2 separate regions of the Homo sapiens genome follow, and region 2 is linked to region 1. Evidence: promoter capture Hi-C in 16 types of primary human blood cells and fetal thymus (Javierre and others, 2016). All regions are on one chromosome and are shown on one strand. Each heading gives the region's core, a stretch centred on a gene start or on the middle of the fragment in contact. The rest is flanking DNA. Distances are from core to core; before and after follow the strand shown.

Region 1 (4,402 bases), core at 1,783-4,282:
TATAATCACAAGTCTCAAACACCTAACATTTGTTCAAATATTTGTCCAAAGTAAGATCATAATTTTTTCCTATATAATTCCTTACTTCCTTTTTTGTACATACATAGGTGAAAAAGGACTGAAGGAGGGGAGCCGTCAGAAAAGAGGTGCAACTACCCTGTGGCCACTATACTGTGAGAAGGCTGACCTAGCCAAGTGGAAAGGGCACCTCGCGGAGAACTGAAGTCCTGGCCAACAGCCAGGACCTATGCCACCCACATAAGTGACATCATTTCGGACTTCCCCAACTGAAACCACATTAAGCAGAAGCACCACCCAGTCTACTCACAGATTTGTGGGAAATCAAATGCTGTTGGTTTAAGCCATTGAGTTTTGGGGTGGTTAGATAACTGAAGCAGCTAGAAAATAGCTTTCCAGTCAGACCAAATACCACATCTATGAATGACAAGCACCATCATGGCAACTAAACATTGTTTATCCGTTGTATCAACGGAAATGATACAACTCCTTCAATCTGAGCATGCCCATCGGCTGAAACATTCAGCTGGGTAAACCTGGATCTATACTGTACCAGGCTCAACAGTGTTAAATAACTACTAATAATGATCACATGAATAACGGTAACAGCAGCCATTATTTACCAACTGTTTATTACATACTAGGCATTGTGCTAAATCCTTTATTCATTTAATCCCTTATAAAAGCCTTTTGAGGTGGGCCACTATAATGCCCATTTTACTGATGAGGTCGCTGAGGCATAGAGTGGTACAGCGACTTGCCTGGGATCACACTGACAGTAAACAGTGATACGGGATTTCACTCTTGGCCATCTGATTCCACAGACACCGGGCTCTTAACTATCAGCTTGCTTTACCCCTTCAAAAGTGTTATGCTACTTTAACAAAACTGCCCCTTGTTGGTTTGTTTTGTTTTGTTTTGTTTTTTTGAGACGGAGTCACTCTGTCGCCCAGGCTGGAGTGCAGTGGCGTTCACTGCAACCTCTGCCTCCCAGGTTCAAGCAATTCTCCTGCCTCAGCCTCCCGGGCAGCTAAGATTAGAGACGCGCGCCACCAAGCCCGGCTAATTTTTGTATTTTTAGTAGAGACAGGGTTTCACCATGTTGGCCAGGCTGGACTCAAGTGATCTGCCCGTCTCTGCCTCCCAAAGTGCGGGGATTACAGGCCTGAGCCACCGCACCCAGCCGAAACTGCGCCTTCTGAGTTAATGTGTGTAAAGAGTTTAAGACTGGGCCGGGCGTGGTGGCTCACGCCAGTAATCCCAACACTTTGGGAGGCCGAGGTGGGCGGATCACGAGGTCAGGAGATCGAGACCATCCTGGCTAACAGAGTGAAACCCCTTCTCTACTAAAAATACAAAAAATTAGCCGGGAGTGGTGGCGGGCGCCTATAGTCCCAGCTACTTGGGAGGCTGAGGCAGGAAAATGGCGTGAACCCAGGAGGTGGAGCTTGCAGTGAGCCGAGATCGTGCCACTGTACTCCAGCCTGGGCTACAGAGCAAGACTACGTCTCAAAAAAAAAAAAAAAAAAAAAAGAGTTTAACGCTGTCTGGTCCATGGTAAGTTTTCAGTAAACACCAACTCTTACTATTAGGAAACCTGAAGATGTGGAATGAAAGATGAGAGGAAGTACTGTATATGACTGGCGTACAGTACGCCCCCAATTAATGTTAGCTATTTGGATGATTTATATAGGGCTTCTTCACCAGCAAGCACTCCGGTGCTCGGTAATTTTCTGTTTACAAGTAGGCTCTCCCCACACCCTGTGAGCTCCCTGCGTGTAGAGCTGTTTTCAACACATCCTTGCAGGTTCGGAGCCCAACACGTGGCCCCCAGAGCAAATAGCTGCTCAGTAAGTTTCTTGACAGGAGAGAAAACGCTTCCTTCCTTCACCAGAAATGCGAACTTGGATTTCTAAGATGACACCTCCCCCAGCTACCAGCCCTTAACATGATTCCAAAAAAGAGGGCAAGAAGGGACAAGGGTCCCACCCAAGAAATGCGGGGGCCAATGGGCTCCATGGGATAAGAGATGGAGCCGGGCTTGTGGCCAGGACACTTGAGAAGTCCGTGCAACTCCGTGACCGGCCACACCGAGAGGGGGACCTCCCAAACCCCCCAGCAGTCCTAAAAAGTCCCTAGGAAAAGGGCAAGGCCCTGAGAGGGAAGTCACCCACCTCCCAGGTGGCGGACCCCCCGCCCGCCCAGGGTCGACTAGGACTTGGGACTACCCCCTCCGCCCATCCCACGGCAGCTGCAGGCGCAGGAAGAAAAGAAGTGACAGGGAGTCCAAAGTTTCCCCAACAACAAAAATCCTTCCCCCGAGGGAAGGGAAGGGCTCCCACCCTCAGCCCGCCCCGCCCAGGGAGGAGGGACCGCCACCAGTGGATCTAGGCAGTTGGGGGTCCCGCTGTTCTGGTCCCGACAAGGAGTGCCTGGCTTGAGGTTCCCCCGCCCCGCGCTTCGTGCACTCTGAATTCTTTGAGAGGGTCCCAGGGAGGGACAGGGGTGCCCCAACTCTTACTTACAGTCGTCTAAGTCATCCTGCAAGTCCACAAAGTACAGGGGGATCTCTGAAAACCAAGAAACACACAAGAAGTTACCAGGGGGCTGCGGCGAGAGGGGACGGGGTCGGGCAGGGGCCCCTCGGCCTCGCGGGGTGGTCACGGGGCGAGAGAGAGAGGGGCACCCCTGGCATCCCCCGAGCCCAGCCCCACTCACCCGCCATCTTGGGATGGGCATGGAGGCGGGACCGGCAGGGGCGGGGCCCTGCAGACAGGGGCGGGGCCCTGCAGACAGGGGCGGGGCCCTGCAGACAGGGGCGGGGCCCTGCAGACAGGGGCGGGGCCCTGCAGACAGGGGCGGGGCCCTGCAGACAGGGGCGGGGCCCTGCAGACAGGGGCGGGGCCCTGCAGACAGGGGCGGGGCCGTCGGCTTCGGGCCCCGCCCCCGATCCGCGCCGGCCGGCCGGCCCCGCCCTCTCAGCGAAGGTGGCTGCCGAGGTGGGCGGGGAGGTCAGGTGACGCGGCCGGCGTCCCAAGATGGCGGCGGCGGCGGCTCCCGGAAGGCCGCGGCGGCGTCCCGGCTGCTAAGGCGGGCCCCACGCGGCTGGCAGCGGACAGGCCGGACCTACGGCCGGAGGACGGGCGGCAGCCGCCTCTGCGCGGACCGGGGCTGGGCCGTGCGGCGGCAGCGGCGCCAGGGGATGCTCTTGCTGGGCCTGGCCTCTCCCTTCTCAACTTAGGGCGGCGGCGGGCCCGCGCCCCTGGCTCCCGGGCCATGGCGCTGAGGGAGCTCAAAGTGTGTCTGCTCGGGGTGAGTGGCGGCGGGTCCGGCCGGGAGGGCCACGGGAGGCTGGGCTGGCGGGGACCCCGGATCCCCCCTGTCCCCTCATCCCTTCCCCCCTCCCACGTCCAAGACGCTGTCTGCCAGCCCCGTGGACCCTCCCTCCAGCTCGGGAGCCGTCCCGCCCACCTCTTGCACTCTCGAAAAGGTCCTGGAGGCCGAAGGGACCCTTCCCCTTCCCCTCCCTGGAGCCCGTGGACTCTTCCCGCCCCACAAAGAGCAAACAGCCCCCCCTTGCCTCTCTATTGCATCTGGGTTAAGAGAGGTTCTTAAATAGTTTTCTCCCAACTTACCAAGGTATTAGTTGGGAGTTGGCCAAGTCTTCCAAAGTAAAACCAATAACAGGTCTTTAGGTTTTACAAGCAGCATTAGCCTACTTTGTCTCTTGGGTGTTTTTGAACTTGTGGGATACCCCTGCCACTTGTCCAAAGAGTTACTTTGCCAAGTAACTCTTCCTGTGGAGAAAAGGGGTGTTCAAATCAGGAAGCCCCAAAGACTAGTTTGAAGCTTCAGCTTCCTGTCTTGTCAGGAAAGACAAGGTGTTGGCCATTTCAAAGCCTTCTTTCTGAAATTGATGCTGTCATTCCAGAGTTTCTGCCTTAAAGATCGGCAGGAACTCCAATAACTAATCTTTATTCCCCCAAATAGGGTGGGGCTAGGATTCATCAGGGATTACTCAGAGGTAACTCAGGAGTTCAAAGTTTACTAACATATGTTAAAAAGCAAGTGGACTTGTTACTTTTTACACGAAGCAGAAACTTTGGGTCTCTCAAAAGGTCCTAATCTGTCTTAACGGCAAAAACCTCTCCCTTTTAGTACAGTTGGAATTTCCTAATTACTCTACTGAATTTTTATGACAACCGCTTTTGTGTTCCTCCGTTTATAAAATTTACACGTCTAGGGTGATTTTTCTAAAATCCTGAACTTATGCCACAAAGTAGTTTTTGGTGTCTGCCAAAAGGTAAACTTTTTCTCAGTCCCTCATCTCGTTCTCTTTCAGGATACAGGTGTAGGTAAATCGAGTATTGTGTGGCGGTTTGTG
Region 2 (4,904 bases), core at 407-2,906, 550 kb after region 1:
GCCCCGGGGCCCCGGGACTCCCCTGGCTAGGCTGGTGGGGTCCACGGTGGGCTGGGGTCATTGGGGAAGGCGCGCCCCGCCTCGCCTGGCACGGCTGCTTGGACTCAGACAGCTTGTCGTTGGTGTGTGTTGGTGTCCATATTCTGTGTTCGCCTGTGCATGATACGCTGAAGTGTCCCCTGTTCCTATCCCGGCACCCCCAAATTACCCGCCGACTGTGTACTTGTACTTGGGAACGGGCTGTGTTGTGGTTTGCGCCATGGCCCGGGCAAAAAACTTTCGCTGTTCGCACACTCTGGTGGTACCTGCGCCCGGGCGCTCTGCGGCAAGCGGTGCGGAGGACACGCGGGGAAGGTGGCGGGGCCTCCCGGGAAATAAGCGGGGCCCTTGGCCTGGGGGAGCGGGGAATCGCTTTTCGCCGGCCTCCGCGTAACCTTGTTTCTGTATGTCTTTCTCTCTTTTTCCTTTTGCGCTAAGCGTTTCCTCACTTCTCATTCGTTCGCCAAACCCTCCCGCCTTTACAGTTGAAAAACCAGACACACAGGTATCTGGGGCGCCCGGGGCTGCACACCTCAGTTCGGTATTCTGCACACACACAGCTCGCCTGGTCGGGGGATGGGGGAAAGGGGAAACACAACCTGCTGTAGGCAAGTCCGGATCCCAAACCACTTGGGGGCTGGTTCCAAGGGGGTGGGCGTGGCTGTGTTTAAAAAATATGAAATAATTTTTCTTCCTAGCGAAGAGCCCGAGGTAAGCCAATCATTTTTACAAAGAGTACAGTAGGAGGGGCTTGGTTTAAAAAGATGGGGGTTATGTGTTGTGAGTGGAATGTCACCTTTGTGTTTGAAATGCAACTAAAATAAAAGTTTTCAAAAAATGCTCTGAGTGTATTTGAAGTGTGTGGACAAAGTATGGCAAAACCGTGAATATGACTTGTGAAAACAAGTAAATGTTTGCATGTGAATTTTTTCAGGCAGCTTTAGCTGGGGGCAAAGAGGCTTGTCAAAGGTAAGGTCTTCTGCAAATTGGCTCTGGATACAAAAAATATATAAAGGTATTTTGATTACAGAAGTTAAAAATCATGATATTCTTGTCAGGAGGGTATTTTGGTGGCCTTCTACCTTCCCCCTCCTCCTCTGCTCACATTTCCCCACCTCTCGGTGCCCTCCCCTCTCCAGGATCCCCCTCCTCACCCCACAGCAAGACCCTCTCCTGTATCTCCCAGTCTTTCCCTGGCCATTCCCAGTTCCCCACCCTCCCCCCAGCCCCCCAAGACTTCTTAACTTCAAATCTGGGGCATTAAATATTTTTGCCACATTTAAACAAAGCATCAATTAGCAATGGTCTGAATATGTGGTTTAAATGAAAACTTCCAAACAAACTTCACAAGCTTAATTTTTACATTTTATTCTCTAAGACTTTCTCTAAGACCTTCCAAGGGATTTCAAGATCACAGTTTTTAAGGCTGCGCTACATTTGTTAAATATGTTAGAATGTGTGATGGTTTTTTATTAATGGCATTATTGGCATATAACTGTGCTATTGTGATGTGGCTCTCACAAATCACAATTTTAAATGTGAGGATCATTTTGTGTATGCCCATCCAGGTAGATCATGACATTGTCATTTACCTAAAGACATATAATATGGTCGTTGTTTTAAATTTCAAATGTCTCAACTACACTAAAGCTACCAAACATTAAATGACAATGCACTGGTTTCCCTGCAGACAACTGATTTTGCCATAACAGACCCATTTCAATATTCCAAGCACAGCTCTGGGAAGCAAACCTGTAGATTGGGGGTGGGAGGACATAAATGCATACAGACAGGAGACCCAAGTGACAGTGTGCACCTGACCCCTAATTGTCAAATTGGTGATGTGCCTTACATGCGGGGCCTCAGTTGCCTCCTTTGTGAAATGAAGCTTTCCTAGCAGATCTCCACTAAGGAATGCTTTTGCACCATGATTTGAGTCTTCTATTCTTCCTGGAGGTGGGGGGTGGAGGAGACACAGTCTACTTACATCAGGACTGGAGACTTATACCATAGATTGTGCAGCCATCAATCCTGCAGCAAACTGTCCATGTTTGGGACCAGTCTTAAGAATATTAGAAGTTTCCTTTGTCTCCCCTTATTTTGTCACCAGGAGTAAAAATTAACTTTAAGAAAAGGAAATTTGCTGGGGTCACCTTGTACCTTGTCCTGGCTTTGTTCTCGGGTGCTGGTAGCCAAACACCTTTGGATGCAGCATAGTCCAGAAGGTGGGCTGGCAAACCATGGGCCATGTCTAACATAAGCCTGAAATATGATAGCCAGTGTTAGCTGCTAGCTGAAACTGTACCACTGCAGTTTGTCAAAGCAGGCTACAGTTTTTGACCAGGCTTCCTTTTGCAGAGGTGACGTACCTCTTCTGGACCTGAATTATTGATGGGGGACAGGGAGAGGAGGAAGGATGAGGACTTACTCACATGTAGGACAAGACTTTTTACTAACTTTTTAGTCCCAACATATAAAACAAGACATCCATACATCCCTACCACTGAAAATGCAGATCAAATGGCTGTCCTTTGATATGGTTGCTAATTTGTGACATGCAGATTCATCTGTTGCTTGAAAAAATGTATGTTCATGTGCTTATCCTTTCTGTTTTTATTGCCGGGACAATTTAATCTCATTACAGGGAATCCTAAGAAATCAAAGAGAGAGAGAGAGAGAGAAAGATAGATAGAAATCAGTAATATGATTAAAATTCTAAAATATCTAAAGAGTTCTTTTTAAAGAAGCCTTTTTCTTACTCAACACTATCCACCAATAGACTGTTTCCATGTTTCTGTTACGTTTTTAAATAATTTTGGTGGCTTAAACATTTTTTAAAACTTCATTTAGGTGTGATTTCCTCCTTAAGAACTGAATGGGGCTAATAGATCAGAGTTTCTTAGTATCTGCCACATTTATTAAAATTGTGTAGGCAAATGCTATATATAATAATGGCTATTCTGCTATGATGCTTTATTTATACAGTGAATCACAATTAATTGTATGATTATTTATGCCACCAAGTGCAACAGTATGCATTGTATTCCATCTTGCAGAAGCACCTTTTTATTTTTCTTTTCTCTCTCTCTCTCTCTCTTTTTTAACATACAGCCATTTTTTTATATTCTAAATGCCTCCACTGAGCTTTTGGTGTGGTAGGAAGGACATGGCTTATCAGGCCACAAAATTTTGGAGTCCAGATAGATTTATTATTTTCTCTTTTCAGTCTCCTAGTAAGATTCATGCTTCTCAAAGTCTGAAATTCTACCTTGGTTTTAATTCTTACAGATTTCTCTCAAAAAAAATTTTCCCATATAGGTAGATTAATGTTTAAAATTTACCCCCATTATTTACAATGGAAAACTGGTTTTAAGCAAAAAGAATTGGGGGTCATCCCCTTACTGTATGTATCCTCCTAACTTGAAAAGGAAAATCTCACTGCTCTCAGTATGATTAGTAACCAGTAATAATAATAACACATTCTGATTACATTTTTTGTTTGTTTGATTTGAAACAAAGTCTCCCTCTGTCACCCAGGCTGGAGTGCAATGGCAGGATTTCTGCTCACTGCAACCTCTGCCTCCCAGATTCAAGCAATTCACCTGCCTCAGTCTCCAGAGTAGCTGGGATTACAAGCGTGTGCCACCATGCCTGGCTAATTGTTTGTATTTTTAGTAGAGATGGGGTTTCACCATGTTGTTCAAGCTGGTCTCGAACTCCTGACCTCAAGTGATCTACCCAGCCTCCCAAAGTACTGGGATTACAGGCATGAGCCACTGTGCCTGGCCACATTTTACATTTTTTAAAGCCTTTCATCTAGTCATATTTGTCTCTTGAAACAGTCCTGGGCAATAAAAACGTGATAGGGCCCCATTTCATAGGCAAATAAACCAAAAGCTCAGAGATTAAATATCAGACACTTTTTTTTTTTTTTTTGAGAAGGAGTCTCGCTCTATCGCCCAGGCTGGAGTGCGATGGTGTGATTTTGGCTCACTACAACCTCTGCCTCCTGGGTTCAAGCGATTCTCCTGCCTCAGCCTCCTGAGTAGCTAGGATTACAGGTGCATGCACCATGCCCGGCTAATTTTTGTATTGTTAGTAGAGATGGGGTTTCACCATGTTGGTCAGGCTGGTCTCAAACTCCTGACCTCGTGATCCGCCCGCCTCAGCCTCCCAAAGTTCTGGGATTACAGGCATGAGCCATCGCGCCCGGCCATAAGGCACTTTTACTCAAAGACTGCAAGGTAGGTAAAGGATCACAAATTTCAAATTCAGATAATGCTTACCAGAAATGTGATGATAAGCTATAAAGCATTATTTAAATGTAAAGCATGATTATTCTAAGTATACTATGTGCTCTTAAAATCCCTTGCCAAATGACACGTGTCGAGTAGTCTGCTACTTTCTGAATTATAGCAAAACGCACAGATCCCTGGTTATAAATGTCCATTGAGTATACATGAAACATGAGCTCCCCCATTTCTGAGATGGCTGTCATTGCTTTGGTAATATTTCATTTACACATTTGCTTTAACTCATCTGCCAGCACTGCAACGTTGCAGTCTTAGTTTGTTGGGCTACTGTTTTCCTTTTTTTTTTTTTAAATGCAGGTTTTTTTAAAAGTTTTTTGGTTTTTTTGTTTTGTTTTGTTTTGTTTTTTTGCAGGGTCTAAAGCTTTTCTTCTTGTTTAGGTTTCCACTAAATAATAATTAATCATTATAATAATAAAATGCAGTTACTTTTCTGCATAGCTCTATTATAAGTATAGCGTTAGAATGTTTAGAATCCTGGTCTGGATCTCATGATCTTATCAAAATAACTCTGCTCCATAGTCTTTGTAGTGATTTTTTTTTAAAAGTATGCCT

The links. Contacts are between HindIII fragments. The CHiCAGO score rates a contact against its expected background, and 5 or more counts as called.
Region 2: a fragment that was not itself captured here is called in contact with the fragment with the promoter of RAB22A in region 1 in 1 of 17 cell types (activated CD4 T cells); the score reaches 5.7 in activated CD4 T cells.

The regions. Positions count from the first base shown.
Region 1 is chr20:58,306,683-58,311,084 of GRCh38, forward strand. RAB22A (RAB22A, member RAS oncogene family) reads left to right here and starts at 3,033. Exons shown (of 7, transcript NM_020673.3): 1 at 3,033-3,330; 2 at 4,361-4,402. The coding sequence starts at 3,295. It also overlaps the pseudogene PPP4R1L. RefSeq lists silencers at 2,502-3,061, 3,102-3,431. The HindIII fragment of the contact is 7,008 bases long and covers 1-3,865 here.
Region 2 is chr20:58,855,670-58,860,573 of GRCh38, forward strand. It overlaps a transcript of GNAS not described here. Among named protein-coding and RNA genes, the nearest start is that of GNAS, 33 kb to the right of the region's middle. RefSeq lists an enhancer at 1-674. The HindIII fragment of the contact is 537 bases long and covers 1,389-1,925 here.